Regions from separate parts of the Homo sapiens genome. Here regions 1 and 2 are each linked to region 3. Evidence: promoter capture Hi-C in 16 types of primary human blood cells and fetal thymus (Javierre and others, 2016). All regions are on one chromosome and are shown on one strand. Each heading gives the region's core, a stretch centred on a gene start or on the middle of the fragment in contact. The rest is flanking DNA. Distances are from core to core; before and after follow the strand shown. Region 1 holds the start of NPTXR (neuronal pentraxin receptor). Region 2 holds the start of DNAL4 (dynein axonemal light chain 4). Region 3 overlaps PDGFB (platelet derived growth factor subunit B).

Region 1 (3,749 bases), core at 727-3,226, 390 kb after region 3:
AGGCAGAGGTTCCAGTGAGCCGAGATCACGCCACCGCACTGCAGCCTGGGTGACAGAGCAAGACTCTGTCTCAAAAATAAAATAAAATAAAAAATAAAGTCATTCTAGGAGATCAACAGACCAGTTTAAACACAATTTGACTCCAGCCTCTGGACCCATTTATCCAAACTGTCCCCAAAGTCTCAGGGGGCAGCTCAGGTAAAGGTGGCACCATTTGGTGCCCAAGTCACAGTGGCTCTGCTGCTCTTGGCAGCAGCCCTCTCTCTTGGCATCTCCTGTCCTTCCCTGGACTTCCTATGACAGTTTCTCCTGGGGATGCTATCTCCGTGTTTCTGTCTTCACGGCACACGTGTAGATGTACCAGGAGTCCCGATGTCTCATGCATCCCCAGGACTTTAGCAGGGCCTACCGCTGGCCTTTGCCTTCCAAGAGCCCAGCCCATCTCTCTGTCCATGAGATGCTTCCTCCAAGCCCAGCTGCCTGCCCTGGGTTTTGAGGTTACGACTTCAGTGAGCACCAGCACACATCCACGCACACACAGCACTCAGGTTCCTGGCATACAGCGCTTGTGTTTGCTTCTCTCCTCTTTCACAACTCAGGTATGGATGAAAATCCCTGGCTCCTAGAGATGGGTGAACAGGGTGGACATCATCCTAACATGTGTGGAGAGAGGGAGGTGGAGCACGTGTGCCTGGGAACACTGGACAAAATCCCCGTGGCTGGAGAGCGTCCCCCAGGGTTGTGGCTTCCTGGGAAACATTCCGGTCTCTCCCCACCACCAGCGCTATGTGAAGTACACTCGAAACCACAGTGGTAGCCGTGGTGGTCCAGAGATCCTGGTTTGCGCTTTCCCTTCAAGTCAAAAATGCAGGCTTGGAAGGGAGACAGAGCTGGGAATAACCACAGCCCTCCCAAGGCCCTTCCAGCCCTGGGAATCCGTATTGGTCAGGAAAGACCTCATGGAAAATTGGAGCTGGGGATAAAGTGTGGAGGATAGTAGGATTGTTTTTAAGTTTTTAATTGCAAAGTTAATTTTCAACAAAATATATATAGACATTTTTGACAGAAGAAAGTAAAACGCTCCTCTGCCACCCCCACAGCACAGCCCACTCCCATTCCTGCTGTTCCTTCTGGGCCTGGTCCACATGCCCACCAGGCACGTGGCACCGCTTGCCAACGAAGGCAGACTGCAGTGGGGGTGGGGGGTTTCTCTGGACCTGTGAGGCTCTAAGCCCCCAAGGATTCAGAGGAGAGAATTTCCATCATCCTCTGAGATCACAGGAAGATTCTGTAATGAGGGTGGCGGGGAGTGAACTCTGCTCCTTCAGAAGGTTGGAGGTGGGGGTGACGGGCAGGTGGCCACAGTATAAACAGAAGTTAGGTCAAAATCCGAGCCTCCCCCCAACCCCCAACACTGGCCTCTTCTCCACCTCTAACCGCTCCCACTCCAGCCCCATCCACAGTCTGGTCCGGTGAAACGTGCCTAAGCTCGCAGGCGGCTCCAACGCAGCCACCCGGTGACCTTGGACAGAGGCCTGACCTCAGGTGTCTCAGTTTCCTCATTTCTATTGTGAGCCTGTCCACGGCAAGGCTCAATTGCGACCGAGCTTGTGGCGCGCCCAGTGCACAGCCCCACCCGGAAGAAAGCTCCCTCCCGGGTGGATGTGAACATAACCGGCTTGGGGAGGGGGCCCGAGCACGGGAGGGCTGGGATGGGGGTCACCCAGGAGCCCCGCCGCGCGGCCCTCGGGTCGCCGGCCCCTGCGCTGTGACCGCGGCGAGATAAGGTCCCAGGCGCTGCCCTCGCTCCTCGCCGCATCCCCGGCGGCGCCCCCAGCCGGGCGCCCGGCACTGAACGGGTGCGGGGCTGGGCCGGGGCCAGGGCCGGCCCGGGGAAGCGAGTGGGGCGGGGCCGCCGCGCCCGCTCCCCCTCCCCGCCGCCTGCCGTCTTCTCCTCCTCCCGCCGCCCGGGCTCAGAGCGGCGGCAGCAGCGGCCGCGGCGACAGCTCCAGCTCCGGCTCCGGCTCCGGCTCCGGCTCCGGCTCCCGCGCCTGCCCCGCTCGGCCCAGCGCGCCCGGGCTCCGCGCCCCGACCCCGCCGCCGCGCCTGCCGGGGGCCTCGGGCGCCCCCGCCGCCCGCCTCACGCTGAAGTTCCTGGCCGTGCTGCTGGCCGCGGGCATGCTGGCGTTCCTCGGTGCCGTCATCTGCATCATCGCCAGCGTGCCCCTGGCGGCCAGCCCGGCGCGGGCGCTGCCCGGCGGCGCCGACAATGCTTCGGTCGCCTCGGGCGCCGCCGCGTCCCCGGGCCCGCAGCGGAGCCTGAGCGCGCTGCACGGCGCGGGCGGTTCAGCCGGGCCCCCCGCGCTGCCCGGGGCACCCGCGGCCAGCGCGCACCCGCTGCCGCCCGGGCCCCTGTTCAGCCGCTTCCTGTGCACGCCGCTGGCTGCTGCCTGCCCGTCGGGGGCCCAGCAGGGGGACGCGGCGGGCGCTGCGCCGGGCGAGCGCGAAGAGCTGCTGCTGCTGCAGAGCACGGCCGAGCAGCTGCGCCAGACGGCGCTGCAGCAGGAGGCGCGCATCCGCGCCGACCAGGACACCATCCGTGAGCTCACCGGCAAGCTGGGCCGCTGCGAGAGCGGCCTGCCGCGCGGCCTCCAGGGCGCCGGGCCCCGCCGCGACACCATGGCCGACGGGCCCTGGGACTCGCCTGCGCTCATTCTGGAGCTGGAGGACGCCGTGCGCGCCCTGCGGGACCGCATCGACCGCCTGGAGGTGAGCGCCGCGCGCCGTCGGGGGAGCCGCCCGGGTGGTGTGAGGGGCCGCCCGGCCGCGGTCGTCCGGCGGTCCCCGAGCCTCCGGTCTCCCGTCTGTGTTCCGGGGACGATCGCGCCTTCCTCGCTGGCGAGGCGGGGGGATTTCGATAGGGAACGCGGGCAGGCGTCTGGCACGGTGACTGAGGCACAGAGGGCGCGCCAGAAAGATTCGCTCCCCACCCTTTTCCGTCTCCAGGCACCTCTCTGAGCCTCAGTTTCTGTGTCTGTAAAATAGGTATAACAGTGTCCACTTGTAGTGGAAATTGAATCAAATGTAGGTGTGTGAAAATGCTTGGCACGTACTAGGACCTCATTAAATGTCCCTTTCATTTCCTTCTTCCGGACACCCCCAAATCAGCCCAGCTCCACGCTCACACTTTATGGCCAGGAGATGGATGCGCTGTCCAAAGGACTTGGGGTCCTCCCCTCATTACACAGAGCCGGGAACAGAGTGCCCTATAAGACAAACCTGGGTGCCCCTCACCACCTCCCTACCCTGAATCTCCCACTCTGGCTCAGACTATGACCCAAACCGCAGGAGCTCAGGTGCCAGGCGCCCAGCCTCACACACCTGGAAGCCCACAGCTCTTGGGTGGGGGCTGAATGGAGAACAGGGCCCCCCGAGCTCCTCCTCCTCCACTCACTTTTCCAGGCTTTCCTGACTCAGGCTTGGGGTCAGACACAAGGGGTCCAGCATGGGGGAACCCACTCTTGGCTCTCATGTGACCCTGGGCCAGTCATTTCCCCCCTGGAGTCCCATGGCCACCTTCCTCCCTGTAAGAATGAATTTGGGGCTCCCAGAAGTGCAAGGCAGACAGACTGGGCAGGACAAACATCCGGGACACATTCACTACCCCAGCCATGGCCTGACTTCCAGACCACAAGGAAGGGGGTTAAGCAACAAAATCAGATCTGTGGAAGGAAGAGAGAGAAAGAGGC
Region 2 (4,095 bases), core at 758-3,257, 440 kb after region 3:
TGAATCACTAGCACCTGACGAGGGCTGAGCTCCCAGTAGATGCTGTAACTGCCCAATGGGTTCACCTTGCCCACTGCCTAGACAGAGCCGATGTATCAAGACAGGGGGATTGCAATGGAGAAAGGTAATTCAAACAGAGCCAGCTGTGCGGGAGAGGGGAGTTTTATTATTACTCAAATTACTCAAACAGAGGAATGCAGCGGTGAGATTTGGGTTTTGGCAGGGTCATGTTGACTATGGTACAGAGGATAAATTAGAGAGGTGCAAGACTGCAGCCAGGGAGTCCCACCAGGAGATTGCACTCAGGTAGATGGGATTGTGGTGTTGTGCACATGGAGGGTGCCATGAACGTGGCCAGAAAGGCTGTATCAGGAAATAGTGAGGAGTCGAAATTGGCATGCTTGTGACTGGAAGTGGGCTGTTGTAGTGGGAAGGGTGAAGGACTCCCCCCTGTTTTCTGATGGAGGCAACTGGGTCGGGGGTGGTGCCATTTACTGGAATGGGGAATGCAGGAAGAGCAGATTGGAGGGAGATGATCAATTCAGTTTGGGACACACTGAGTTTGAAGGGCTTGTGGAACATTCTGGTGCACATGGCTAGGAGGCAGTTGAATATGCTACCCAAGCATTCAGGGATCAGAGGTTTTAAAGATAATTTTGTGGGTAGGGGCTTGGCAAGCGAGGAGTGTTGATTGATTAAGTCGAAGATGGAATACTGAGGGGGTCGAAGTGAGGTTTTCTTGCTGTCTTCTGTTCCTGGGTGGGATCACAGAACTGTTTGAGCCACATTACTGGTCTGGGTGGTGTCAGCTGATCCATCGAGCGCAGGGTCTGCAAAATATCTCAAGCGCTGATCTTAGGTTTTACAATAGTGATGTTATCCCCAGGAGCAATTTGGGAAGGTTCAGACTCTTGCAGCCAGAGGCTGCTGTGTGACCCCTAAACCATAATTTCTAATGTTGTAGCTAATTTGTTAGTCCTACAAAGGCAGACTGGTCCCAAGGCAGGAAGGGAGCCTTTTTGGGAAAGGGCTATTGTCAATTTTGTTTCAGAGTAAAACTATAAACTAAATTCCTTCCCAAGGTTCGTTCAGCCTATGCCTAGGAATGAACAAAGACAGCTTAAAGGCTAGAAAGGCAAGATGGAGTGGGTTAGGTCTGATCTCTTTCACTGTCATAATTTCCTCAGTTATAATTTTGGCAAAGACAGCTTCAATGCTAGTAAATGTGGCAGTGGGGTTTCACCCCAAGTACTCATCACAATAATAAAGGTTTAAACTACGAAGTACCCAACTGACCCTTTGATCTACCAATCAAATAATAGAATCCGCCAGTTCTTCCCCTTTCCCCTTTTCCTTCTCCGTACTTTCGGATTAATTTTCCCTCCCAAGGGGAAGAAAAGGCAGGCTCTGGGCAACTGTGTCTGAAATTAGGTGGTACAAATGTCTCCTAGTGACTAGAGCTAGGTGACCATACAAGGGTGTGGCACAGAGGAAGGAGCCCCTGGGTTCCTTCTCCAGGGAGATTACCTCCATCCTTTACCAAGTTACTTAACCTCTCTGAACTTTAGTTCAGATGGGATGACGAATATTATCACCTAAAAGTACTGTAATGAGAATCAAGTGAGATATTAATTGTACAGCCCTACAAAAATGCTAGTTATTATCAGGCTTTTCAGATCCCAATAAAGTAGTGGCTAAGTGTCACGACACCAACAAGTTGCATTTGTTATTTCAAGTGACTAAAAGAACCTCCCAAGGCAGTACTGCTTTTCGAAGTTTGTTTCCCTAGAAAAAGAACTTCAATGTGTCCCCTGCTCCTCGGGCACGCTTAAGACAACTATAAGTGAAGTCCCGCCTCCCTGGCCTCTAAACCACGCCCCTGTCCTTGCAAACGCCTGACTTATAAGGGCCTTTCACTCTGATTGATACTTTTATCCACCAATAATAAGTGAAATTCTCGTCAACGTCCGGTGAGGGGGCAGGACTTCCTTGCTGGTTGCTAAGACACTCTTGTTTCGCTCCTTGACAACCCTGGCGGGGGTTCGCTGGCTGCGGCCCCGGCTCCGGCCCCCGCAGGAGCAGGTGAGGCCCCGGGGCGCGGCGGGCAGCCAGGCGGGGAGGGCCGGCCCGGAGGGAGGGCGGGAGGCAACGCAGGGCGGAAGAGGCCTCGCCCGCCGCCGAGGCCCCACCTCGGTCTCCTGCCTGCTGTTCCCCTGCCCCAGGTCTTCCCATCCTCAACCCCCACCCTCACCCCCACTTCGGGACCTGCGAGCTCTGTCGTGACAGGTTTGCCATCGCGACTCTGCCGGCTGCTCTTCCCCACCCACCCAAGGCCTGCCCAGCTTCGTGGTCCCGCGTCCCCCTTTAGCCGACTTCCCCCAGCACCTTGATCCCTCGACCTTTCGCGGAGTAATTCCCTCTCCCGCGGGGTCGCCATCAACTAGGTCAGACCGCTCTTGGCTTGGAGAGTTGGCGACTTACTGGGATTCTGGGCTGGTCATTTCCCCTGTTTGGGCCTCAGTTTCCCCATCTGTAAATGAGAAGTTGAGTTGAGTGATCTCTAAGGCCTCTTCCACTCTGACGTTCTAGGATGTCGTTGTTCTTTGACCCAACTTTAGGCTTCCGAGAGGATGTGCTCCCCAATGGGAGGTATCGTGTATTGTGAAAATAACTTGGCAAACCTAATTTGGATTCCCAGTCTCAAGACCTACCCTCCCTGCGCTTTTAATCAGTGCATATGTAAAATCAGTATACGTCGGTGCATCTCCTTTGGTAATTCTGAGGCTAATATGAAGTACAGAGTCCAGTCCAGTATAGATTCAGTATTTGTTAGTTTCTTTCCTTTGTCTCTTCACCACATTTTCCCTCTCTGGGAAATGTTATCAACCCGGTCAGCATGAACTGTCATTTCTCCAGTTGACCCTCTCTGATCTTCCTCCTGGGCTTCCATGGTTAGGGTTACTTAGGGGTGGGGAGGGGACAGATGGAGATTGAAATACAGTCATGTACCATATAACAACGTTTTGGTCAAGAAAGACCACAGATACCACGGTGGTGCCCTAAGGTTATAATGGAGCTGACAAATTTCTATCACCTAGTTACATAGCTATCGTAATGTCAAAGCAAAATGCATGACTCACGTGTGTGGTGATGCTGGTGTAAGCAAACCTACAGTGCTGCCAGTCATATAAAATATAGCACATACAATTGTGTACAGGACATCATACTTGATAATGGTAATAAATGACTGTTACTTGTTTATGTGTTTACTATCCTACACTTTTATTGTTATTTTACAGTGTACACTCCTCCTACTTATAAGAAAATAAAATTTAACCGTAAACAGTCTTAGATAGGTCCTTCAGGAGGTATTCAAGCAAAAGGCTTTGTTATCATAGGAGATGACAGCTCCATGCGTGTTATTGCCCTGAAGACCGTCCAGCGGGACAAGATGTGGTAGTGGAAGATAGTGACACTAAGCATCCTGACCCTGTGTAGGCTTAGGCTAGTGTATCTGTGTCTGAGTTTTAACAAAAAAGTTAAAAATGTTAAAAATAAAAAATAAAGGCCAGGAGCGGTGGCTCACGCCTATTAATCCCAGCACTTCGGGAGGCCGACACAGGCAGATCACCTGAGGTCAAGAGTTTGAGACTAGCCTGGCCAACATGGTAAAACCTGTCCCTACTAAAAATACAAAAAATTAGCCAGACGTGGTAGCGGGCACCTGTAATCCCAGCTACTCAGGAGGCTGAGACAGGAGAATGGCGTGAACCCGGGAGGTGGAGGTTTCAGTGCGCCGAGATAGCGCCATTGCGCTCAAGCCTGGGCAACAAGAGTAAAACTTTGTCTCAAAAAAAAAAAAGTAAAAAAGAAATAGAAAATTTATAAGTAGAAAAAAGCTTATAGAATAAAGATATAAAGAAAGAAAATATTTTTGTATAGCTGTACAATGTGTTTGTGTTTTAAGCTAAGTGTTACTACGAAAGAGTCAAAAAGTTAACAAAATCAAAACTTTTACAAAGTAAAAAGTTACAGTAAGCTAAGGTTAACTTATTATGGAAGAAAGAAAAATATTTTCTATAAATTTAGTGCAGC
Region 3 (3,609 bases), core at 648-3,147:
CTGAGCACGTGCTGAGTGTCCCCCCACCCTCACCCACCCCCAGCCCCGGAAGGGCCTTGTAAGCCCACACGGCCCAGGCTCTGCCAGTGTGGAGGTAGGGTACCATTTCCTGTGGCCCAGCACAAGGGATAATGCAAAGTCACGCACTCTTTCATGGGCAGGCAGCTCTCCACCCACTCCTTGTCATCCTCAAAAATGTCCTGTGCTGCTGGCCCTGAGCACGTGTGCCACTCGCTGCTGCCCACAAAGGAGCCATCCGGAAAGAATTAATGATGATGACAGTGACAACTCATTAAGCTCCCATTATCTGCTGGCAGCTCTGCTCTGTGCAATTATGCCTCCCAGTAACCCCGGGCGAGGTATTATTAGCCCCATTTAAAAGATGCAGAAGCCGAGGTTTTAGATTGTGACAAGATTCCAAGAATCCAGGTTGCCCTGGCATCTGGAGCCCTTGCTCTTTCCTCCGCTACAGGGTTTCTCAGCCTCTGCACTCCTGATGTTTGGGAAGGCCGTCCTGTGCCCTGAAGGGTGGTGAGCGGCATCCCCGGCCTCCCCCAACTTAAGATGCAGTGCACACCCCAAGTTGTGGCCACCAGCGATGCCTTCATACATTGCCACTGTCCCCTGGGGGCCCACTGGGCCCTGGTTGAGAGCCTCTGACGTGGGACATGCTGCAGAGTAAAGAGCCAACACGAACCTTGTGTGATGCTGAGGGCCAGTGGCCTTAGAACACAGGAGAGGGAGGCTGAGACGCCCCATGGTGGGCTGGAACAGGTGGGCAGTCTGGAGCCTGGGAACGACCCAGCTCTGCCACTTGCTAATTGTCTGGACCTGTTGCTGCTTGTTTAATTTTTTCTAAGCTTCAGTGTTCTCATCTGGAGGATGGGGATACAAATACTGCCAGCCTCTTAGGATTGGTAGTTTATACGGTGTTTTTCTCAGCGTGTGGCTTGTAGCTGGCATTCATAGATGTTAGTTGTGGTATTATTACCAAATCCGGGGGCTTATGGGTAGTTCTGGGCATCTAGTGGCCACATTACCAAAAGCATCTTCAGGGACGGTCTCCCTGCTCAGATTAAAAGGGACTCTAGTTGCTCATTTGCCTAGGGTTGGGGAAGAATATCCCAGGTGGCCCTCCTGGTGGAGGAGGCAGAAGAATCATACTGGACAGAACCTGGAAAATGGTAGACTCCTTCATGCATTTGACCAGTATTTACCGAGGACCTACTATGTGCCTCTCTCTCCTCCTCAGACCCTATCCTGGGCTCTTTCACACTCAGCCTTGGAGGGGCATCTCCTATGTGTCGTGGGCCTGGATCTGGGGTGTCCACTCGGCCTGTTCAGGGGTCTGCCTCCTCTGCCGTGGCTGGCAGCTGCAGCCGGCTCTCCAGTGGGCAGGGAGATCTTGGCACAAGCACTAAATGCCATTTGCTACTAGGCCTTTGGGCCCCTCCCCTGGGGGGTTAATTGAATCTTTACTCCACAAACGCTTCTTGTTCTCCTTCTGCCAGTGATCCAGGGAGGCCTGGCTAGGCACCCGGCTTTGGCGTTTTCTCTGCCCCTTCTAACGCCTCCTGGCAGAATTAGAATTGAATCGAATGTTCTTCAAGCCCCTCGATTCACAGATGAGAGCCAGGACCATAGGGGCAGTGACCAGCCGAGGTCACACGGCAGTTGGTCCAAAGGCGTGGGATTCAGCTCTCTGGCCTGCCAGTTCTGGGTTTGACAGAACTCTCAGGGGAAGCGGCTTTCGCTGGTGTTCACTGGAGACCAAGCCCTCTGTTCTGTGGGTTGGGTACTTTGTCAACATTTGGAGAGCACCGGAGGCGTGGTCTCTCTTCTGAGGTGGAAAGAATGAACTTGCTTGAGGGCGGGAGGAGGCAGAGCCCGGAGGAGATGGGGCCGAAAGTGAGGGGCAGCGGGGCCCATACCCTCCTCTGTCTTGCACGTGCAGCCCCTGGCTGCCCGGATATTGAAGGAAAGACCCTAGTTCTCAGCCAAGCCCTGCCACCTTTTTTTCCTCAAGTTGCCCAGCAGCCCTTAGACATTGGGCGGAGTTGTAAGCTCCATGTTCAAACAAAGACATGGAGACTCAGGGGTTTCAGGGAATGATGTAGCTTTAAAAGTGGTCACCCCCACCCCCCGCCCTGAGTCTTCTGGCTCCTGGATCGATGTGGGTGGCCAGAGTTGGTCATGGATGAACCCCTGGAGGTGTTGCTAGACCTCATGATAAGCTGGAGGAAACAGAGCTTTCGGGGAGAGCCCCCTGAGGCTGGCCACAGGGCTGAGACGACCTCTTCTCCTCTCCCTCGCTCCCCCTCCGCCGTCAGGCAGCGAGAAAGCAGCATCCCTTTTGTGAAGGTAGCCTGCACCGACCCCCTCTGAGCCCCCCGACCTTCGGCTCCGGGAATGTGGAGCGAACCAAGAAGGGAAGTCCTCCCTTCTTAATCCAGGGAAACTGAGGCAGAAAATAGTTTAACCCAAGGTTCTATAGTAATGTGCCAAGCCTATTGATGCCCTCTCCAGGACTGTCTGTCCAGACCGTGCAGCCCGAGTGCCTGTGCCTGCACGTGTGTGTTTGCACACGTGGAAGTCCGGTTCCAGCCTTTGAACGTGCAGCGACATCTTAGGAATTTTCTTTGCTTCTCAGTGGCTGGTGGTCTGGATTGTGATTCTCAGTCTCCCATCTGCCCTCGCCTCTTTCTTGGGATCTCTGGCATCCGCCCCTTGGGTCTCCTGGGACTGTGGGGGACGTGGCTGTGACCTTCCTACGGGGCTGCTCTTGTGTCATTGTGGGACCTGCGGTTTCCCTGGAGGAAGCCCAGCTCCGAATGAGGCCTGTTGAAGTGTTATCAGGTTTCGAGTATGTTTGGCAACAGGCCAAAGGGGCTCTAAAAATAGGGTTTGGTTGGGCACAGGGCACGGGTAAGCTTTCAGGTTTCCCGGCCGTGTCCGAGGATTCCCTTTTCGCCTCTTTCGAGTGAGAGACTTCATAGATACCGCTAGGACCTGGGGCCTCCTGAGGCCATCGCACTCTGCACGCGTTTATTAAGCACCTCTTGTACCCAGGAGCCTGGGAGTACAGGCTCTGTCATCCCAAAGGCATGGGTTTGAATGCAGCTTTTGCCAATAATTGAGCCTCTCTTTGAACGTTTGTTTTCCCCTCTGTAAAATGGGGGTTAGATTGGCCATGGGAGATGCTGGCTGTCTTCAGCTGTCAGGTGTGTTGTGAGACTCAGGGAGAAATCAGATTTTGGTGCATTCCCAGAACATGTAGTTTGGTGGGGGAGACAGACATAGAGACAAGCAGGTCCAACTCAAAGCAAGCTGGGGTTCCTGTTGGGGGTTGAGGGTGCAGGGACTGAGCTGGGTCTCAGAGGCTTCGGCAGGTCCAGGCCCCGAGGCCTTTGTGCTCCTGATCATCAGGCCTGGATCCTGCCTGTCCGTCTCCCTGTGACCTTGGAGCTTTCCACAGGAGAAAGCGAGAAAGCGTGTGGTGGGGGAGACAGCCATGCTGGAAAGCCCCCACTCCCAGCTCACTCAGCCTTTTGGTGTCTGCCCGGCAGGGGGACCCCATTCCCGAGGAGCTTTATGAGATGCTGAGTGACC

What was found. The method cuts DNA at HindIII sites, captures the fragments that hold promoters and counts their contacts. A CHiCAGO score of 5 or more calls a contact.
Region 1: a contact is called between the fragment with the promoter of NPTXR here and a fragment that was not itself captured in region 3, in 1 of 17 cell types (erythroblasts). The highest score is 6.8, in erythroblasts.
Region 2: a contact is called between the fragment with the promoter of DNAL4 here and a fragment that was not itself captured in region 3, in 1 of 17 cell types (erythroblasts). The highest score is 6.0, in erythroblasts.

The regions. Positions count from the first base shown.
Region 1 is chr22:38,842,255-38,846,003 of GRCh38, reverse strand. NPTXR (neuronal pentraxin receptor) reads left to right here and starts at 1,976. Exons shown (of 5, transcript NM_014293.4): 1 at 1,976-2,769. The coding sequence starts at 2,146. RefSeq lists a silencer at 2,388-2,457. The HindIII fragment of the contact is 8,819 bases long and covers 1-3,749 here.
Region 2 is chr22:38,792,055-38,796,149 of GRCh38, reverse strand. It overlaps DNAL4 (dynein axonemal light chain 4), which reads left to right and starts at 2,007. Exons shown (of 4, transcript NM_005740.3): 1 at 2,007-2,082. RefSeq lists a silencer at 1,816-2,265. The HindIII fragment of the contact is 6,501 bases long and covers 1-3,901 here.
Region 3 is chr22:39,235,832-39,239,440 of GRCh38, reverse strand. PDGFB (platelet derived growth factor subunit B) reads left to right here. Exons shown (of 7, transcript NM_002608.4): 2 at 3,567-3,609. Among named protein-coding and RNA genes, the nearest start is that of PDGFB, 7.3 kb to the left of the region's middle. RefSeq lists enhancers at 1,327-2,221, 2,222-3,116. The HindIII fragment of the contact is 2,070 bases long and covers 863-2,932 here.